Regions from separate parts of the Homo sapiens genome. Here all the other regions are linked to region 4. The links are contacts of gene promoters, found by promoter capture Hi-C in blood cells and fetal thymus (Javierre and others, 2016). All regions are on one chromosome and are shown on one strand. Each heading gives the region's core, a stretch centred on a gene start or on the middle of the fragment in contact. The rest is flanking DNA. Distances are from core to core; before and after follow the strand shown. Region 1 overlaps CNTRL (centriolin). Region 2 overlaps CNTRL (centriolin). Region 3 overlaps RAB14 (RAB14, member RAS oncogene family). Region 4 holds the start of MEGF9 (multiple EGF like domains 9). Region 5 overlaps CNTRL (centriolin). Region 6 has its middle 16 kb from the start of RAB14. Region 7 overlaps CNTRL (centriolin).

The links. Contacts are between HindIII fragments. The CHiCAGO score rates a contact against its expected background, and 5 or more counts as called.
Region 1: a fragment that was not itself captured here is called in contact with the fragment with the promoter of MEGF9 in region 4 in 6 of 17 cell types (total CD4 T cells, total CD8 T cells, monocytes and 3 more); the score reaches 7.2 in total CD4 T cells.
Region 2: a contact is called between a fragment that was not itself captured here and the fragment with the promoter of MEGF9 in region 4, in 8 of 17 cell types (monocytes, naive CD8 T cells, naive CD4 T cells and 5 more). The highest score is 8.0, in monocytes.
Region 3: a contact is called between a fragment that was not itself captured here and the fragment with the promoter of MEGF9 in region 4, in 11 of 17 cell types (monocytes, naive CD8 T cells, total CD8 T cells and 8 more). The highest score is 12.8, in monocytes.
Region 5: a fragment that was not itself captured here is called in contact with the fragment with the promoter of MEGF9 in region 4 in 6 of 17 cell types (total CD8 T cells, naive CD8 T cells, monocytes and 3 more); the score reaches 7.6 in total CD8 T cells.
Region 6: a contact is called between a fragment that was not itself captured here and the fragment with the promoter of MEGF9 in region 4, in 4 of 17 cell types (total CD4 T cells, non-activated CD4 T cells, activated CD4 T cells and 1 more). The highest score is 5.8, in total CD4 T cells.
Region 7: a fragment that was not itself captured here is called in contact with the fragment with the promoter of MEGF9 in region 4 in 6 of 17 cell types (monocytes, naive CD4 T cells, total CD8 T cells and 3 more); the score reaches 12.5 in monocytes.

Annotation. Positions count from the first base shown.
Region 1 is chr9:121,127,458-121,130,263 of GRCh38, forward strand. The region is part of intron 14 of CNTRL (centriolin); the gene reads left to right. Among named protein-coding and RNA genes, the nearest start is that of CNTRL, 54 kb to the left of the region's middle. The HindIII fragment of the contact is 2,498 bases long and covers 49-2,546 here.
Region 2 is chr9:121,094,336-121,097,491 of GRCh38, forward strand. CNTRL (centriolin) reads left to right here. Exons shown (of 44, transcript NM_007018.6): 5 at 553-683; 6 at 2,087-2,228. Among named protein-coding and RNA genes, the nearest start is that of CNTRL, 21 kb to the left of the region's middle. The HindIII fragment of the contact is 686 bases long and covers 1,439-2,124 here.
Region 3 is chr9:121,194,488-121,197,382 of GRCh38, forward strand. The region is part of intron 1 of RAB14 (RAB14, member RAS oncogene family); the gene reads right to left. Among named protein-coding and RNA genes, the nearest start is that of RAB14, 5.9 kb to the right of the region's middle. The HindIII fragment of the contact is 3,446 bases long and covers 1-2,895 here.
Region 4 is chr9:120,712,867-120,715,858 of GRCh38, forward strand. MEGF9 (multiple EGF like domains 9) reads right to left here and starts at 1,604. Exons shown (of 6, transcript NM_001080497.3): 1 at 892-1,604. The coding sequence starts at 1,492. RefSeq lists a silencer at 1,292-2,141. The HindIII fragment of the contact is 2,825 bases long and covers 1-2,339 here.
Region 5 is chr9:121,173,484-121,176,628 of GRCh38, forward strand. CNTRL (centriolin) reads left to right here. Exons shown (of 44, transcript NM_007018.6): 41 at 1-26; 42 at 192-254; 43 at 1,535-1,741. Among named protein-coding and RNA genes, the nearest start is that of RAB14, 27 kb to the right of the region's middle. The HindIII fragment of the contact is 2,652 bases long and covers 394-3,045 here.
Region 6 is chr9:121,216,679-121,219,526 of GRCh38, forward strand. It overlaps a transcript of GSN not described here. Among named protein-coding and RNA genes, the nearest start is that of RAB14, 16 kb to the left of the region's middle. The HindIII fragment of the contact is 416 bases long and covers 1,236-1,651 here.
Region 7 is chr9:121,155,790-121,158,761 of GRCh38, forward strand. CNTRL (centriolin) reads left to right here. Exons shown (of 44, transcript NM_007018.6): 28 at 1,681-1,811; 29 at 1,951-2,091; 30 at 2,194-2,320. Among named protein-coding and RNA genes, the nearest start is that of RAB14, 45 kb to the right of the region's middle. The HindIII fragment of the contact is 9,656 bases long and covers 1-2,972 here.

The DNA of each region.
Region 1 (2,806 bases), core at 48-2,547, 410 kb after region 4:
CTTGCCACATCCTTGCCAACGCTGTAGTGTTGTCCAACTTTTTTTTAAAGCTTATATTTTGAAATAACTCCAAACTTGCAGGAAAGTTGCAAGAGGAATACAAATAACTCACATTTGCCTTTCACCGAGAGTCACCAATTACTATTTTAACACATTTGCTTTATCTCCTCATATGTAATTTCTACATGATTTTATATACTTTTTAATTATTATTATACTTTAAGTTCTAGGGTACATGCAGATTTGTTACATAGGTATACATGTTTCACGTTGGTTTGCTGCACCCATTAACTCGTCATTTACATTAGGTATATCTCCTAATGCTATCCCTCCCCCCTCCCCCCACCCCACGACAGGCCCCGGTGTGTGATGTTCCCTGCCCTGTGTCCAAGTGTTCTCATTATTCAGTTCCTACCTATGAGTGAGAACATGCGGTGTTTGGTTTTCTGTCCTTGTGATAGTTTGCAAAGAATGATGGTTTCCAGCTGCATCCATGTCCCTGCAAAGGACATGAACTCATCCTTTTTTATGGCTGCATAGTATTCCATGGTTTATATGTGCTGCATTTTCTTAATCCAGTCTATCGTTGATGGACATTTGGGTTGGTTCCAAGTTTTTGCTATTATGAATAGTGCCGCAATAAACACATGTGTGCATGTGTCTTTATAGTAGCATGATTTATAATCCTTTGGGTATATACCCAGTAATGGGATCGCTGGGTCAAATGGTATTTCTAGTTCTAGATCCTTGAGGAATCGCCACATTGTCTTCCACAAAGGTTGAACTAGTTTACACTCCCACCAACAGTGTAAAAGCATTCCTGTTTCTCCACATCCTCTCCAGCATCTGTTGTTTCCTGACTTTTTAATGATCACCATTCTAACTGGTGTGAAATGGTATCTCATTGTGGTTTTGATTTGCATTTCTCTGATGGCCAGTGATGATGAGCATTTTTTCATGTGTCTGTTGGCTGCATAAATGTCTTCTTTTGAGAAATGTCTATTCGTATCCTTTGCCCCCTTTTTGATGGGGTTGTTTTTTTCTTGTAAATTTGTTTAAGTTCTTTGTAGATTCTGGATATTAGCCCTTTGTCAGATGAGCAGATTGCAAAAATTTTCTCCCATTCTGTAGGTTGCCTGTTCACTCTGATGGTAGTTTCTTTTGCTGTGCAGAAGCTCTTTGGTTTAATTAGATCCCATTTGTCTATTTTGGCTTTTGTTGCCATTGCTTTTGGTGTTTTAGTCATGAAGTCCTTGCCCATGCCTATGTCCTGAATAGTATTGCCTAGGTTTTCTTCTAGGATTTTTATGGTTTTAGGTCTAACATGTAAGTCTTTAATCTATCTTGAATTAATTTTTGTATAAGGTGTAAGGAAGAGATCCAGTTTCAGCTTTCTACATATGGCTAGCCAGTTTTCCCAGCACCATTTATTAGTGATCCTTTCCCCATTTCTTGTTTTTGTCAGGTTTGTCAAAGATCAGATGGTTGTAGATGTGTGGTGTTATTTATTTCTGCAGTCTCTGTTCTGTTCCATTGGTCTATATATCTGTTTTGGTACCAGTACCATGTTGTTTTGTTTACTGTAGCCTTGTAGTATAGTTTAAAGTCAGGTAGCGTGATGCCTCCAGCTTTGTTCTTTTTGCTTAGGATTGTCTTGGCAATGCAGGCTCTTTTTTGGTTCCATATGAACTTTAAAGTAGTTTTTTCGAACTCTGTGAAGAAAGTCATTGGTAGCTTGATGGGAATGGCATTGAATCTATAAATTACCTTGGGCAGTATGGCCATTTTCACGGTATTGATTCTTCCTACCCATGAGCATGGAATGTTCTTCCATTTGTTTGTGTCCTCTTTTATTTTGTTGAGCTGTGGTTTGTAGTTCTTGAAGACGTCCTTCACATCCCTTGTAAGTTGGATTCCTAGGTATTTTACTCTCTTTGTAGCAATTGTGAATGGGAGTTCACTCACGATTTGGCTCTCTGTCTATTATTGGTGTATAGGAATGCATGTGATTTTTGCACATTGATTTTTGTATCCTGAGACTTTGCTGAAGTTGCATATCAGCTTAAGGAGATTTTGGCTGAGACGATGGGGTTTTCTAAATATACAATCATGTCATCTGCAAACTGAGACAATTTGACTTCCTCTTTTCCTAATTGAATACCCTTTATTTCTTTCTCTTTTCTGATTGCCCTGGCCGGAACTTCCAACACTATGTTGAATAGGAGTGGTGAGAGAGGGCATCCCTGTCTTGTGCCAGTTTTCAAAGGGAATGCTTCCAGTTTTTGCCCATTCAGTATGATATTGGCTGTGGGTTTGTCATAAATAGCTCTTATTATTTTGAGATACGTGCCATCAATACCTAGTTTATTGACAGTTTTTAGCATGAAGGGCAATTGAAGTTTGTTGAAGGCCTTTTCTGCATCTATTGAGATATCATGTGGTTTTTGTCATTAGTTCTGTTTATGTGATGGATTATGTTTATTGATTTGTGTATGTTGAACCAGCCTTGCATCCCAGGGATGAAGCCGACTTGATCGTGGTGGATAAGCTTTTTGATGTGCTGCTGGATTCGGTTTGCCAGTATTTTATTGAGGATTTTCACATCGATATTCATCAGGGATATTGGTCTAAAATTCTCTTTTTTTGTTGTGTCTCTGCCAGGCTTTGGTATCAGGATGATGCTGGCCTCATAAAATGAGTTAGGATTCCCTCTTTTTCTATTCATTGGAAGAGTTTCAGAAGGAATGGTACCAGCTCCTCTTTGTACCTCTGGTAGAATTCAGCTGTGAATCCATCTGGTCCTGGA
Region 2 (3,156 bases), core at 532-3,031, 380 kb after region 4:
TGAGGCAGAGCAAGAGAGCAAAAGATCCTGAGACACAGAGAGAAAAAGGAGACTGAACTGTGATAATTAATCCACTCCCAAGATAATGGCATTAATTCATTCCTGAGGGCAGAACCCTCATAACCTAATCACCACATGAAGGTCTCGCCTCTCAGAACTGTCACAATGGCAGTTAAATTCAACATGAGCTTTGGAGGGGACACTAAAACCATAGCACTATCTTTTGGAAGAAAGGAGGGGAATGAGAGGGAGAGGTATGGCAAAAGTGAGGTAGAGGGAATGACAGTGAGGGAAATCTTGTTGGATAGTCTTGAGCTTCTTAGTATATAGACAATGTTGTTGTCAACTGAAGGGCAAAGAGAGTTTGGTAGCTTGAGTAGAGTTATTACTCCTAGTCAAGGAGAGCTGCATCAAGGGATTCTCCAGGAGAGCAGTAAGGGTATATTATTTTCTGATGACTGATCAAACAGACCCTGATGCACATAAGTAAATGTTGTACTTTATGTCAAGTCATCTGTTGTGTAAAGTATTCATTCATTTGTTTCCAATTAGTATATTGAGAATTTGGAAAAATGTGTTAAACTTGAAGTACTGAATCTCAGCTATAATCTAATAGGGAAGATTGAAAAGTTGGACAAGCTGTTAAAATTACGTGAACTCAACTTATCATATAACAAAATCAGGTGAGTTATATAACAAAATCTTTAGGCAGCATTGCAGATAGCTTTGTTAGAGAGGTAGATTAATGTTATCCACATTACTGAAAGAATGATTTGACAGAAACAGAAGATATTTTTATCTTTATTCATCAATCAAATGAATGTCTGTCTCTTCACATATGGTAGGTAACTGTCTTTATGTTTTGGCATTACTGAAGTACAGAATAACATCTAGCATTATCAAAGAGATATATTTTTGAGCACCAAATTGTATCTTAATTTCATTTCTGACAGGAAGTTTTCCCAGATATTGTCTGTGATTTATTACCTTATTACATTAAGAATGTTGACATGAAGCAGAATGTTTTAACCCTGCCATTTTGACCCCCAAGATGTTCTAATCTGTTTTGATTCTGATGTTCTTTGCTTATTGCTACAAGAAATATGCTCTCAATCCTGTTTCCAATTCATAATATATATTACTGTGAGAAATAAACATACTAAAACTGACACTGGCTAAAACTTCATATAGAAAACTTGTTATAGACAAAATGATACAAGAATCAAATCTTGAAATTCTTAATATCTGCATGCTTTTCCCCCAAGTTAGACTTGGTAAATATGATGGCCAAGAAAATGACTAGCAATGGCAGAAGTTCTGATATGACAAAACTGAAATGAAAAAAAATGATTAATGAACCAAACCCTTATTATAAAATTTGTATAAAAAGTTGACTCTGATGAAAATATTTTCAGCAAAATAAAATTGAAAGTAGAGAAGCTTAGAAATATTTACCCAGTGTAGATAGAGGCTTTGAAGTATTTGTGCAGTATAGAAAATTGACCAAAGAATTAAATTGACAAATAAATTAGAAGTGACTTGGGAAAAACCTTCATCAATCAGAATTCATTAATATGTGTGATAAATGCTTTATTTAAAAGTTCTGGTTAAATTACTTATATTCCTAAATACAGTATCATCTATGGGCTCCCATATCCTGCTGGCATAGCTAATCTTTTTATGATAACTTAAGACAATAATTAGGAACATCTTTTGGACAGGAATGTAGCAGATAGGACAGGGTGCTATTGAGTTTCCCAGGTCTCCACTGGCTGTTTGCTAGTACTGTTCACAGTAGTCGGTGAGAATGCCATGGTCACATTTTTCTTTTCTATGTTATGGAGTTGCAAAGTCTAATAATAAGATTGATAGGATTCCTGGGCATAGTAATAAAAAGTTGGCAGTTTAGCTGTTCTGGTAAATTTGGCTTTAGCCACTTTTCTTTGTTCTCATTTATGAAAAGAGTTGATAAATTATCATTATGAAAAGTAATCTAACATGGAGCTAAAGCTGTTTATTCTAAAAATACAATGGAGAGACTCTATAATTGTACTCACTAAATTTTATTTTATCCTTTGCTTTCCAGCAAAATTGAAGGCATAGAAAATATGTGTAATCTGCAAAAGCTTAACCTTGCAGGAAATGAAATTGAGCATATTCCAGTATGGTTAGGGAAGAAGTTAAAATCTTTGCGAGTCCTCAATTTGAAAGGCAACAAGATATCATCGGTAAGTTATTCAAAATAGCAGGAATTTTTAGACTTGTTAAAAAATAAAAGATTAAAAATATCTAAGTTTTTTAAAAATGGGATTTCTTCTTTTAAAGATTTTGCTCCTTTGACTAAACACTAGATTCAGACATAGCCCATGATTTTCTAGATTAATTAAATACAAGCAGTCCTCATTTTGCATGGGTTCCTAGGTCAACCTAGGGTTGACCTCTTAGCATTTTTACATTTATCATTTCATGTAAGCCTCATAACATTCTTGTTAAGAAGGCAGTACAAGGATTATTTTTGTAACACTATGAGTTAGGTAGTAGCAAGTAAGGTCTAGGACAGGTTAAGTCCCTTATCTAGAGTCACATTTTGTGCCAGGATCCAGATCACTGAATGCCTAGAAGAAAGTTCTGGGTTTTTTTTTTTTTGACAGTATTAACTTCCAATTTCAAATTTACCAGTTTATTTTGATTATAATGTTAGGTGTTATAGGAGGTTGATCACTAGCTTTTCATAATAGAGCAACTTTGTTATGATTTACATATTTGGATGATGTTGTATATTTTTCTCTGGAATATAGTTTATGATTTTCTTATGGTATTTATTCACAGCTAGGTATTTAATAAGCATTTGCTTAGTAAATTTGTTAATTTATTTAAATTTGTATTAAAATTGGGAAAATTGTGCCATAATTTAATGAACATCAGTTGTAGAATAGAAAATGAAAGATGTGACTTCAAAGATGGGCCTCTATAGAATTGCCTTCCATGACCTTGGAGAATTCTTTAATCCCTCTAAAACCACTGTTTGGGGAAAACAATCCCTATACTGCCTCCTTTACAGGGGTATTATGGGGGCTCAGATGAAATGATAGATGTGAAAATGCTTTAAAAAAAACTTTAAAACACTAAATAAGTCTAAAGCTATATTCTTTAAGC
Region 3 (2,895 bases), core at 321-2,820, 480 kb after region 4:
GTGCTAGGTCCTAGAGAGAAACAAGGGGCTGAACTGTAAAACTGGTAATAACTTTCAATAAAGTTTATTCTCAAACCAGCTTTCAGCTTAAGACAAAAATTATTTATACATATAAAGATTTCACCCATTTAAAAAAATCTGACTTACAGTATTTTTAAGCCTGGCTTTTAGTGTTTCTGTCAATGTCACATTACACAAGCCAGACATTTAATATGACTGGAGAAATTTATTTACTGAAATTATCACCTTACTATATACCATATTTCAAGCAAAAGTTCTATATAACAACATTGAACCCGTAGAAAGAATATATATTTAAAACAAGTGTATTATTATAAGGGAAGAGGAAGTTGTTAATTACAGTAAAGTATTAATCACTTCCACACACTACAGTCTTCTCACTTAGCTATCTGTATTACATTTAGTGAAAGTAGAAGCCTTGTTACCCATTCCAGTTTGGCATGTTCTAACACATTTATAATCAGTCTCCTGCATCACAGAAAACTCCCTTAACCAGTTCTTTCAGGAAAGGGAGTTTTTCTAGTTAGATTAACTGATTCTGAACATCACAACAACTTTATTCCCTTTTCCAGGCACTAGGAACTCAAAACTTTTAAGAATGAACTTGGTCCTGAGACTAAAACTGGTCTGGATTATTTACCTGATCTCTGAACCAGATGCCAAACACAAGGGGGAAAAGTAATCTCTTACATTAAAAATATTTAAAGATTATTAACTTCTTAACTTGAATTCTTCCGACTCTTCTAATCAATTTTTAATTCTTCTAAATTCTTTCCCCATTCAAACCTGGGTAAAAGTAATCACTTAGTCACCTTCAAATTACTGTCTCTTCTGTGCTCTTCTCCCTTGATTTTCCTAATTTCTTTCCCTCTTCTAACTAAAGGTTGTAGCTGTACATACTTTGCTCCTTCTATTTTATGTTAAAGCTATGACTTCTAACAATCCCAAATTTCTACTTCAAATGCTTTAAAGACTATCATAAAATTGTGACCCAATTTTAGTTGTACTAATTTGTGTACCTGCTAATTATCATACATTCATTAAATGTGAGATAACTAATTTTGAAAATGTATCTTAAAATTACAAACATTCATATAGTAGAAACTATTTCCAAATAAAAGAAATGATCACTATTTCGGATTTAATACCAGGGCTCTGTCTCACCACACCACACATTTTTCTTGCTCGTTTCTTTAAAAATTACAAATAAAAACCATAAAAGCAGAATTAAAGGAAAACTACTCAAACTTACTAATTTCAGTAAACAAAGGCAGAAAACATTTAACACTGTAGCCACCAACACTCACAACAGGTCTTCCCTTTCTTATTCTAAGAAGATACTGTCTAGATTTAAATATATTCCCATAGTTGACTGATATTAATACATTTCAGTCAAAAGTATTTGCAGTAGAATTATATTCAATACTAAATAGGCTTAATGTTGCTTTAACAAAAGATTTCTCAGTCTCATTTCTTGAACATGAAACATACTATTGTTAAGGTGAGGAATATATTTTTACCTAACTTTGGAAGGGAAAAAATTCTTCCCCTATTATTTAACAGTACTTTTGCTTTACTTAGAGAACTCTTGAGTCTAAAAAAAAGGACAGGAAATGCTGGTCTGGTTCAAACTCTGAAAACATGAGCCCACTTAACATTACAATCCCCATAAATGAAAAAAAAAATCCTGGTAATATTCTATAACTTGTATACAACTACCGGGACAATTAAAATTCACTTTATTCCACATTTTACAGAAAGTATTCGAATCAAGTTCATATGTAAGTAAAAGATCTTTATTGCCTTTAAAGGAAAAAAAGTACCACATATTTAGACAACAGGCATTTAACACATAATCAACAATTTGCAAACTAATAAGAAATACAATTGTGAGTTACTATTTATTGGGTACTTGACATATGCCGGGCAATGTGCTAAATATTTTACATACAATTTCATTTAATCCTTACTACTATCCTATAACATAGTTAATTATTATCCTCATTTTACAGATGAGGACACAGACTCAAGAGGTAACATGCCCAGGTCACACAGCCAAGTCTGTACTGAACCTAGGACTGTTTTAACTACAGAGATCCCCTCTTAACCACCACACCATCCTGCCCTCTCCACCGTCGTGCCTCCTCCACATGGTTATCAGCTGTACCATGTAGCTCTGCAGTATTCACTCGCTTAATTATAATTTAATATTCTGAATAAGATACATGAATTACATTCAGAGGATGCACTGCAGTCAGAATTTATAGATATAAATGACTGGTAATACTAGTAATACTAACTTATAATACTATAATTCATTTACTTAGAAAAAGTTTCTTGAGAACACTTGAGAGTAAACCATGTAATGATCTATACTACTTTTTATAATTCTTACTTAATTCTCACAACTCTGCAGAGTCATTATCATTATGTCCATGCAAAAAATTAAAGAAACTGAGGTTTGGAGAAATTCACTCATTTGGCCAATGTTATAAAGTTTGTAAATGGTAGACCTAGAACTTGAACCCAGGCCTGATTCCAAAGACCATGATTTTCTCTAAGGTATTATTAGCTTATTTCAGGTATGTACAGGTAGACTGATAAAATAAAAATCAGAGAAAGAGGAAGGATATTAGTGCATGTAAAATTTAGCTATAAACTACCCTTGCTGCCAAGAGAAATATTTACTAAATGCATAGTAAACACTAACAACTGTGCCATGTATTCAACTGACTCCTTAAAAATATTAATATGCTTAATATTGCTTTAATAAAGGATTTCTCAACCTCATCTCCTGAACATGAAACATACCAGTTTTCACCACTGGGGAAACATACCATTTCACCACTGTGAAAATATACCATTTTTCACCAC
Region 4 (2,992 bases), core at 354-2,853:
ACTTAAGATTTAAACGGGGAAAGAATACGAGTTGTCTTTAACTTTGCTTGAAGACTTCAGCAAGAAAAGCCTTTTCTACGTGGGCTCAAACAGAAATTGGCATATATCAGCATCAGCAAAGTTGAACATCCTGGCTTAAGGAGACAAAAATAGGCATCCTTGCTTAAATGGTGTATTTGGCCAAACATGTTGACCTTATAATTGTGGAAGAAAAAAATGGTGCGAGGAAGAGATTTAACCTAATTTGTAAATGTGCTCAGCCTAGATACACACCTGTCCCAAATGACCTACTGAATCCACTTATTTGCAGGGACAACATGGATTACAATGCCTTTTTTGTTTTTATTTTTTGCCCTCAAGTGGTCCATACTACTGTTTGTAAACAAAATCCTCTCACTACCTCTCTTCCACCTGTCATACACACACATCTGATATTTACATAAACAAGAAGAAATGAACAGGGAAACTGGAGCTTTGGGAGGAATTCCTTACCCTCAGCTTTTGACCCAGTGGTTGAAGGAGGTACTATGCGGGCTTTCAAACTTCCCCAAATAACCCAGGCAGAGAGGCTGGGTGCGCGAACCCAACCCAAAAGTTTGCGCCCATTCTGGTCTCTGAAAAAGGCCAGAAAGCCCTGTTGGGAAGAAGATGAGATGCCTTCCACCCAGCAGCCACCCCCTCCCGAGGGAGCACAGCCCACGGGGGACAAAAGACTTTCCAGATTGATCGGGGGCGGGAGGGAGACTAGCTGGACCTGGGATCCCCCCTCGGGAGCCGGAACCTGGGGTGTCTTTGGGGTAACAAACGATAAATTATAGGCAAGAGCCCAACCCTAGATTGCCGGGGCTGAGGTGAGGACGGGTCCTGCCCGAGAGGGAGCGCCGGACTCACCTGGAGGAGGCGAAGAGGGGGCCTCGGTGGCAGGTGGGGTGGGGAGGACGCTGCTGTTGCTGCTGCTGGGGAGATCGGGGGTCGGGGTCCGGGGAGTCGTGGGCGCCGGTACGGTGGTCGCTACAGGGGTGGTCGGCGCCGGGCCAGTGGTCGTCGAAAGGGTGGTCGGCGCGGGTCTGGTCGGCGCCTGAGAGGTGGTCGAAGTGCGTTCCGCCGCCGGAGGGGTGGTCGGCGAGGGGCCGAGCGGCGCCTGAAAGGTGGTGGAAGAGGGTCCAGCAGTCGCCCAAAGAGGGGTGGTCTCCGGGGACTGGGCTGGAGAAGTCGCAGCCAGGGGTCGGTGGACGGTGGCGCGCGGGGGCCCGGTCCTCGGGGCCTGGGCCGTGGGAGCCGTCGCCCTAGGGAAGGGGTGGCTGGGCTCGCCCCGCAACCCGGGGCCCGGCGACGCGTCCACCTGCCCCGCGGCCCCGCCGCCACCGGTGACATTCCCCGCCGAGGCGGCTGAGGCGACGGCGGCGGCGGCGGCGGCGGCGGCGCAGCACAACAGGGCGAGGCCGCCCAGGCTCGGCAGGCTCCTCATGGCGCGCTCGGCTCCGCCATTCATTCATTCAGCCAGTCGGTTGGTCAGTCATCTTCTCCTCGTTGCAATCCGACCAAGGAAGCCTCCGCAACCGCCGCCGCCACCGCCACCGGGCGCACCATCGCCACCTCCCTCTGACAGGCGGCCGGCCCCGCGGGCGGGCCCCAGCGCGGAGGGAGCGACCGGACCGAGCGCGGACCGCCCGCCCTCCTCGATTGGCAGCCGCGCCTAACCAATGGGAAGCCACAGTCGCCCACGTGATCCGCCCGCTTCCCGGCCTCTTTGTAGCCCCGTAGGCCAATCAGAGGACGTCCAGGAGAGGGGGCGGTCCGTGAGGCGGGAGAAGGGTGGTGCGAGCCCAGCTCTAGCCCGCCGGGCTCGCGGCGGCCCCGGCTTTGTCTGCCCAAAGAGTGGGGCGCGGGCCTCGGGCACCGGGCGCCGCGGAGCAGACAAAGGATGCGCCCCGCGCGGCAGACGCCGGGCCTAGTCATCTGCTCCACCGGGCTGCGAGCACGAGCGGGGGGTGGAATCAGCACTCGGGAGCATCCCCGCCCTCCTGAACAATGGGGCGCCAGCGCCGCACCCCAGCTCGGGCGGGGACCGCGCGGGAACCCCGCGATGGGAGAGGGCAGCGGCAGCGACGATGTAGAGCTTGGCATGCCCTCTGCTGCTCCAGAGAGCCTGGTCGCAGCCTTGCGAGGTCTCTGCCGCCATTCCCATTTCAGAGATGGGGAAGCTGAGGCCCTTGCTGAGGGCCTCCCTGAACCGAGACCCACGCCCTCACCAGAAACCTGCTGTGGGCCAGGTGTTGTGCCAGACTGGACAAGGGGGCGGGACCGGGCGGTGGAGACCCCTGAGGGCAGAAGGTGCAAGCTTCCTGCGTGGAGGAGACAGGCTCGCAAGCACACTTACCTAAACCCCGGGAAGAATAGGATCAGACAGGGTTGAACCTCAACTTGATGTCTTTTGCTGAATGGTTTTGTGGCCTGAGCGCGGTTTTTTCACCACTAAAATGGAGATGATAGGACACCCCTCACCCCCCACCCCCCTCACAGAGCTGTTGTGAGAATTAAGTCATGGACGTAAAGGGCTTAGCCCAGAGCCTGGCCCACTGTTGTAACCCTCATTAATGCTAACTATTCTCAGCATTTGCGCCAGGGCAAGCCCAGGATTAGAAAGCAGCCCCAGGCCACAGCCCTTCAGTGCCCCCAGAGCCTCCGGCTGGTTGCAGGGGTTGGGGTGGGGCTAATAGCCGAGCTTGACCCTGGATGACACTAAACCCTGAATCAAGCTGGAATTCGGGCACGCAGCCTCGCATCATCCGCCCAGGATCCAGAGCTAGGTCAGGCGCTGCTGCTTCGGCTCAGCAGCTTCCAGAGGAAGCCAGGCAGGGCGGGTTTGTCATCTGATGGGGCTTAATTCAAGCCCCACTGCTAACCCAATCCCGGCCTCCCCTACGTGATGTTTGGCTTTGTGCATGGTTTCCCATTAGTCATTGGTCTTCAACCAGACCAGCAGGATGAG
Region 5 (3,145 bases), core at 470-2,969, 460 kb after region 4:
TGAACTTTTCCCAAGTTCACATAATGGTAAGGGTTTATCCTGCTATTCTCTGGGTTCGTAGGATTGACCACCTCCCCCAGCTAAGCTAAAACACAGATGTGGGGGTGCTGGGGTAGGGGAGGGAAAGGCTGGTTGGCTTCCATTTGTAGCAGCAGATGATTCATGATATCTCTATTTTCCCTCTGAGAAAGGATGAACACTGGCGTGGAGAAGCACTCCGGGAGAAACTGCGTCACCGGGAAGACCGACTCAAGGTTGCCCTTTAAAACAAACAAAAAATCAGTATGAGATACTGGGCACATTGGGGAGGGGAGGGGAAAGTTACATTTACCTGATGCTTTCACATCCATGCTGTTGCAGCCCTGCCAGCAGTGTCAGGGATGGCATGTCTGAAGCTTCGAGGAGTTGGTGTCACACAGTAAATGGCAATCAGTGTTCAAAACCATGACTTCTTGTGTTGACTCCAGTGTTCTTTAACCTATGTAATGCTGCTTTACCTCAGCTAGAACCGATAGAATCTAAGTATTTGGGAGAGGAAGTAGAAACACAGTGATGAACTGTAAGGTTATCATAGGCCAGTGGTGGCAGGAAAGATTTGGGATACTGGAAAAGTAGGCTGAATGTCAGGTAAGGAATTGTTTGGCTCAGAACATGTTGACTTTGAAGGCCTTGTGAGATATCCAGGGAAGGATATCTGTCTGTAGGCAGCCAAAAATAGGAGTCTAGGATTACTGATCAGTGTTGACCTAAAGATTTGAGAGTTAAGAGTATAGGTGGGAGGTTACATTTATGTGGGGGGAATGGCTATGTAGACAGCATGGGATGAGAGAGTGCAGTGCTATAGTATTGAGTGGAGCCCTGTGATGTCCAACAATAGTCTCCAGCCATGTGTGGTTATTTAAATTTTAATAAATTATAATTAAGTTAAAAATTCAGTTATTCATTTGCCACATTTCAAGTGCTTAATAGCCACATGTGTCTAGTGGCTTCTATATTTATAGCCAGAGGTAGAACATTCCCATCATTGCAGAAAGTTCTGTTGGACAGCGCTGCTATAGACTTTGAGAGAATAATTTGATTATAGCAGGGGCAAAAGCCAAAAAGTAGTATGAAGTTGAGGATTAAATACCTAATCATTTATAGACAAGAAACTAAGACTTAGGAAAAAATACATAATCAGGAGACACTCCAGTTGTCAAGTATAAACTGATCTTCTCAGTCATAACAGAAAAGGAAAAAAGAGATGAGGCAATAATTTAATGGAGAAGCAAGGGATACAGAAATCCTAAGCACTGCTAGCATGGAAAAACTGGGCCAAGTGAAAGACCCCGTTAATGACAACACAGAAAAGTAAAGGTTTATGCACACTAAGTATCCACCTGGCACCTCCTACAATTCTTTTTAAAGATGAGCATTTTTGACAGCCATTCCTACTGTTAGCCAGATTTGCCTATCAAATGTATGTGAGGAAGCTGAGCGGCAGTTCTGGTACATTTCTTCTGTGTAAAACCCTAAGTCTTATCACACTTTTCAGGCCCAACTCCGACACTGTATGTCCAAGCAAGCAGAAGTATTAATTAAAGGAAAGCGGCAGACAGAGGGCACTTTACACAGTTTGAGGAGACAAGTAGATGCTTTAGGGGAATTGGTCACCAGCACCTCTGCAGATTCAGCGTCATCACCCAGTCTGTCTCAGCTGGAGTCTTCCCTCACAGAGGACTCTCAACTTGGACAAAATCAGGTAAGCAGCAGCTCTTTTTAAAAACAAAACAATAGCCTGAGGTTGTTTTTTGTCTTTTTTGAGACAAGGTCTTGCCCTACCGCCCAGGCTGGAGTGCATTGGTACCATCACAGCTCACTGCAGCCTTGACCTCCCAGGCTCAAGTGATCCTCCCACCTCAGCCTCCCATGTAGCTGGGACTACAGGCACACACCACTTGGCTTGGCCACTTTTTAAAATTTTTTGTAGAGATGGAGGTCTTGCTGGGTTGCCAGGGCTGGTCTCAAACTCCTGGGCTCAAGCGATCCTCCTGCCTCGGCCTCCCAAAATGCTGGGATTACAGGCGTGAGCCACCACGCTGAGCCAAGAGGAAACTCGTAAGATAGGATTTAATATATTACATAGAAAGTACTTAAAAGCCGTGGGGTGTATAATCTAGAGGAGATTCAGAAAAATATAGATTATGCCGCCTTCAACTCTCTGAAAAACTTGTCTTAGCAAAGACTTGGTAGAGGTAGATAAGCTGATGGCTTAGGAAACAGACTACGACTGCAGATTGGATGACCTGGCAGGGATATAGTTAATTCTACTATTCATGTCCTCCACTTCTGGATTTATTTATTTCCTACTCTGTCAATATAAAGAGCTTAGACCTGTGAGGCCAATATGAGTCCTAGTTTAGTATGTCTCCCTGCATTTTGTAACTTACATTTACAGAGTTGGAATTCAGACCTCTTAACCTAAGGTCTATAAAAACCCTGAATTTCACAAAGGTTTTCTGTGTGAGCTTAGATAAGGTTAATAAGCATTTAAGAGGAACATGAAATATACTCATGGAACTGGTAAGTAGTAGCACACACAACTGTCAGAGATAGGTAACAGCTTCCATTTTCCAGTGCCTATTGTGTGCACATACAAAACTTTATATATATCATCTAATTTTTACATCCTTGGAGGTAGGACTTATCCTTTTATATAGATAAGGAATCTGTACAAAATGATAAATGATTTGGTCAAGGACATAGCAAAGGACAACAGCAGGACTTGCGGGCTAATCTATCTTTACCACAGAGCAGTATATTTTAATGGTGGAGCCACAAGGAGCTTTCAAGGACAGTTGCCTCTTTAATGTGCCCAAGGTGGGCAAGTGACTTACCTAGTTCACACAGCTAATTAGCAGCAGGGCCATTAGCAGCAGGGCCATCTGAATATGATTATCTTAACACCATCTGTGGTGGACCCAGTCAGGTAAAGGCCAAAATCATCATGGGCCTTAGGGCAGGGTTCGAGGAGGAGTGTGAGAGGCACTGGGCATTGAATAGGGAAGCTTTGGGGATGAGACAGCCCAGAGTAGTGAGAGAAGAGTAGAGTGCACAAGGGCTTAAAAGCCAGCTTCAATTACCAGCTCAAGGTGGCAGCCAGAGT
Region 6 (2,848 bases), core at 194-2,693, 500 kb after region 4:
CTTGGTATTATAGTGAGATTATTCTATTACCCACTTCTCCCACTAGGCTAGGAGTTCCTGGAAGACAGGAATTTTACCTTGGTCATTGTATTAGTTTGCTAGGACTGCCGTAACAAATAGTACAGGCTCAGTGGCTTAAACAACAGAAAATTATTTTATTCTGGAGGCTACAAGTCCAAGATCAAGATGTCCAAGCGTTGCATTCTTCTGAGGGTTGGTTTCTTCCTTGGCTTGTGGATGACTGTCTTCTTCCTGTGTCTTCACATGGTCTTCCCTCTGTTTGTGTCTGCATCCTAATTTCCTCTTCTTTTTTTAGTTCTGGGTTTTGTCTTCCACTTTATTTAGATTTTTAAAGTATTTTTCTAACTTAAGGAGATTTCTTTTTTAAAATTCAACTTTGGCTGGGCACATTGGCTCACGCCTATAATCCCAGCACTTTGTGAGGCCAAGGCGGGTGGATCACAAGGTCAGGGTGGATCACGAGACCAGCCTGGCCAACATGGTGAAACCCTGTTTCTACTAAAAATACAAAAAAAAATTAGCTGGGTGTGGTGGTGGGCACCTGTAATCCCAGCTACTCAGGAGGCTGAGGCAGGAGAATCATTTGAACCTGGGAGGCGGAGATTGCAGTGAGCCAAGATCGCACCATTGCACTCCAGCCTGGGCAACAGGGCAAAACTCCGTCTCAAAAAAAAAAAAAATAACTTTTATTTTAAGTTCAGGAGTACCTGTGCAGATTTGTTACAGAAGCAAACTTCTGTCCTGGGGGTTTGTTGTACAGATTATTTTGTCACCCAGGTATTAAGCCTAGTACCCATTAGTTCTTTTTCCTGAGCCACTCCCTCCTCCCAACCTAAACCCTCCAATAGGCCCCTAATCTCCTTTTCTTATAAAGATACCATTCATATTGGATTAGGGCCCACCCTAGTGACCTCATTTTAATTTAATTACCTCATTAAAGACCCTGTCTCTAAATACAGTCACATTCTGAGGTACTGGGGGTTAGGACTTCAATTCAATTGGGATGTGGCTGAGTGGCACAATTCAGCCCACAACAGCCATTTCTTTAAATTTTTTAAATTTAATTAAATTTTTAAATATTTCAAATAATATAGAAATGTATTATTATTATTATTATTATTATTATTATTATTATTATAACCTCAAACAAAACAAGCCCTCCTTTCTCTGCTCTTTTCTACCCAACCGTTAATACTGCTACCAGGTCTGTTTCAAGCTTTTGCGTATATAAGGGTACATACATAAAGATATAACTTTGGTGTGTGTTTTCTCTTTTACATAAGTACGATCAAATTGTCCATATTGTTTTGCATATCCTGATCTTATTCATTCTTTTTATGTATGTGTCCAGTCTACCTCATGCCCTGACTCACAGTTTAGCTATGACTAAGCATGTTCAGAACATTTGTTGAGCTCTTAAGAAGGGTGGTCATGGAGTATAGGTCTGCTATGAATTGTCTGGCAGTCATTTAATATTGTATTATATTTTAGGTCTGTCAACCTGAAATAAACAGCAGAGAGACCAGTTCTCCAAAACAAAGAGTTTATTTGAGAATAACAGGGAATTGCGATTTTGGGTGCACATGCTGTGGTGGACCACAGGTGCACCAAAGGGGATGGGGCAAGAGGAAGCTTTTAAGAGAAAGGACGAGAGGCCAGGCTCGGTGGCTCATGCCTGTAATCCCAGTGCTTTGGGAGGCTGAGGCAGGTGGATCACTGGAGGTCAGGGGTTCAAGACCAGCCTGGCCAATATGGCAAAACCCTGTAACTACTAAAAATACAAAAATGAACCAGGCATCATGACGTGTACCCATAATTGCAGCTACTCAGGAGGCTGAGTCACGAGAATCACTTGAACTCGGGAGGCGGAGGTTGCAGTAAGCCGATAACGCACCACTGCACTCCAGCCTAGGTAACAGAGTGAGTCTCTGTCTCAAAAAAAATAAAGAAAGGAGGAAACGTACATGTAAGCTAATTTGAAAAAAAGACCATTGGTTACAGGAGCTTGTTGCAGGAGTTGGCATTAGCTTATTGGTGGAGACAGCCACTGTTGGACAAATGTCCCTGTGCAAGCCAGGTGGCTTATGTGGAATTTCTTGGATAGTTTCTGTTGTAGGCATACATGCATGAGGACCCTTCCTTCATGGCCTCCCCTCTCCATTTTGTGAGAGTTTAGCCTAAGTGACTCCATTTTGGTACTGGCAACTTTCACAAGTTTCATTTTTCTTGTATGTAAAATGGAGGACAATAATATTCATCTCCCAGGGTCCTGAAATGATCTGGTATTTGGAGGTTACCCTACCAGTTTTGTCCAAGCATCCATCCTGCATGACACCTGAAGTCCAATATCTTTATTCAGTTTCACTTCCTTGATGTTTCTCAGAGTCCTGAGGATGCTTCCTTGATGGACAGATCCACCTGGTGGGGGCCAACTCCTCTGGCCGGGCAGTTCTGCCAGGGCTCTGTGTCTGCTGCTGCTGCGCTTGCTGCTTCTCTTTACCCGGTCTCCTGACTCAGTTCCCCAAAACACACCAAATACCAGAAGGTTCAAGTTAGGGGATTTTTTTTTTTTTTTTTTAAATAGAGACTAGTCTCACCATGTTGCCCAGGCTGGTCTTGAACTCCTAGGCTCAAGTGATCCTCCTGCCTTGGCTTCCCAAGGTGTGGGATTACAGAGGGGAGCCACAGCACACCACCAAGTTAAGGGATTTTTACCAAAGCCTTCCTGATAGCATTGAGACAGGAATGATACAGCGTTGACACAGGAGAACAGCACATTCCAGGCAGCAGTTTTATATGACTAGCAAAAGGGAACTGTTTAAACAGC
Region 7 (2,972 bases), core at 424-2,923, 440 kb after region 4:
GAGAGGCTCATTACTGGCCCAGAGTCACATAGCCAAGGGCTCTTTTAGTTAGATGAGAATTCCAGGATGAAAAGAGTTCCTTACCCACATGAAACACCTCAGGAACTATTATTTGTATTTTGCTATTTCAACATGAATCTATTTAAATTAAAAGCAGTCTATTACCTAGGAACTAAATTATTTATTAAAGAAATTCTGTGAGTAATTAAGAATGGAAAAAGTCCTTTTCAGATGAGCTGTTCCTTCTGTTGTCATATGTTGGATTACTGTGAGAGAAAATAGATGTGAGCAGAACTAGAGGAAAAAAAATCACTGGTATAATAATATATAATAAGATATTTTGATAATATATCAAAATATCACTGGTATATTTTGATTATAAATTTTGGTATATTTTGGTTATATATTAATATATATAGGTATAGATATATAAAATCATCAAAAGAAAATTGATGGCAGTGGTAGTAGGCAGAGGTAGTAAGTCAACCAAGGCTGGTAAGTTCTTTCACCTTCATCCTCCCAAAATGACTCAGGGAGGCAGCTTGGTAAGAAGGAGGAGGAGAGAGAAAGTAGTGGTGTTTTGGAAGGAGTGTGCCAGACATGTTAAAACCTGACATAGAAGGAGACAAAAAACTATTTGGTGGCTTTTCTGGAATGCATAGCCAGTTTTATCCAGTGCTTTGCTGGTGAAACTGACAGAAACAAGCTATCTGAAATGGAAAGACGTATGGTAAAATATGTAGCTCTCTGGGAGCTTGCCAACCCTTTTGCATCCACACAGATATTTAATAGGCAAATTTAACATACGGACTCCTCTGGCTTTAGTACAATGGCAGACTTCAGTTTTTTTTGGCTGAAGGTGAGTCACTGCTCAACCAAGTGCAAACCACACTCTATTTATTTTTGGAACTTTTGATGTCATTGTTTTAAGCATCTTATGTTAGGCAGAAAAAGAAACCAAGTTGATTAAAACAAATGTGTTTTTACCAAATCTTATATAGGAAGATTTTAAACATTTGCAAAGTATTTAATGTTTGTGTTTGTCAGCCGTAATTACATTATCACCAGATCAATGCATTTTTACTTCGCTTGATAATAACTATAGAGTGCAGCAAGAATTTCTGTGTGGAGGAAATCTTGGTAAAATCACTTCCTTCCCACTTAGTTGGGTAGATAGTTTTAATATTTAAAATGATATAATAGTATTACAGATTATTTTGAAATAAAAAGCATCTTTAGTTCCACTACTTTCAAATGACTGTATTTATTTTTATATAGTCTTTCTGTCTTTGTTGACACATGTAGTTTTACACAGTTGCTCTCACAGTGCTTATACCATTTTAAATTTATTTTTCTCAGCCAACATAATATTAACATTCTTCCGTGTTGCTACATTGTCATCTGATCATTTGAAAGGCTACACAGTATTCCACTTTGTTAATGCATTATCACTTAGCCTATTATTATTTGTCAGGTCTTATATTATTATACATTGAGCATTTTTATATAGTAGTTCTTTGCTTCTGAATTATTTACCGAGAATTAGAGTTACAGTGAATGGACATTTTTATGTCTTTCTGTACCATCTTGTTTTCCAAAAGAGCTGTACTGGTTTACATGGCCAGTAGCTGTGAGTGAGTATTGTAACTGAATGGCTTTTAATGACAGTTTCTTTTCTAGACAAAAAATGCTGTTGAAAAGTTCACTGATGCCAAGAGAAGTTTATTGCAAACTGAGTCAGATGCTGAGGAATTAGAAAGGAGAGCTCAGGAAACTGCTGTTAACCTCGTCAAAGCTGATCAGCAGCTAAGGTAGGTGGATTCCCTAAGCCGTTGATGTATACATTGAGATGAATGAAAAGTTTGCTTCTAAGGGGATAATAATTGGTTTATGATAAATAATGCATGGTAAGTCTACAGGACCTGGGGGGAATAAAGCAATGTGCTTTAGATCGCTCCAGGCTGATGCAAAGGATTTGGAGCAGCACAAAATCAAGCAAGAAGAAATCTTGAAAGAAATAAACAAAATTGTAGCAGCAAAAGACTCAGACTTCCAATGTTTAAGCAAGAAGAAGGAAAAACTGACAGAAGAGTAAGTAAGGCCTCTGTAGGGCTACAAGGGGTTTGTGCTGGAAGACAGCTCTGGGGTTCCGAGTCCCTTAGGATCTGCTCTAGTGTTGCTGGTGCTTTGTAGGCTTCAGAAACTACAGAAAGACATAGAGATGGCAGAACGCAATGAGGATCACCACCTGCAGGTCCTTAAAGAATCTGAGGTGCTTCTTCAGGCCAAAAGAGCCGAGCTGGAAAAGCTGAAAAGCCAGGTATGGCAATAGACACCTTGAAAAAACAACTGACACAGCACTTTATGATTATAAAAGTAATACATGTTTAATTGTAGAAAAGAATAAATGCGGCTATGTATTATAGTTGTTAAGCATGAAGTCTGAACTAAATTTGAATCCCAACTCAATACAATACTTCTGAATAAAAAAAGTGGGTCTCAAAACATGGTATACTCTATGAGATCATTTCTGTTAAATGCCTTTATCAACACTTATGGTTGTATTTTTAGTCAATACCAAAGTACAAAAGTGGTCATCTGATAAGGGGGGATTTTGAGTATTTTCTGTTGTCTTCCTTTTGCATATCTGCATGGTCTTCTTTTTTTTTTGTAAACAAATACGTATTGTCTTTAAAATTGCAACGAATTTTTAATTTTAAAAATGAATACATTTTAAAAATCTCTGACTAACTTCCATCACCAAGGATGTCAAAATGGAATTAGGGTATAAAAATAAAAGTTCTTGGAAAACTGTAACCTGAGGGATGATCATGATTATCATATTGTTGTTCTTACTGTGATCACTGTGATTTGAGTGGTTTTAAGTATGTGAGCTCAAGGTTTTCATTAGGCATTTCACCCTTGCACTCCTTGCCTGGCTTTTCTGACTCTTGGGGGCTAGGATATTAGCT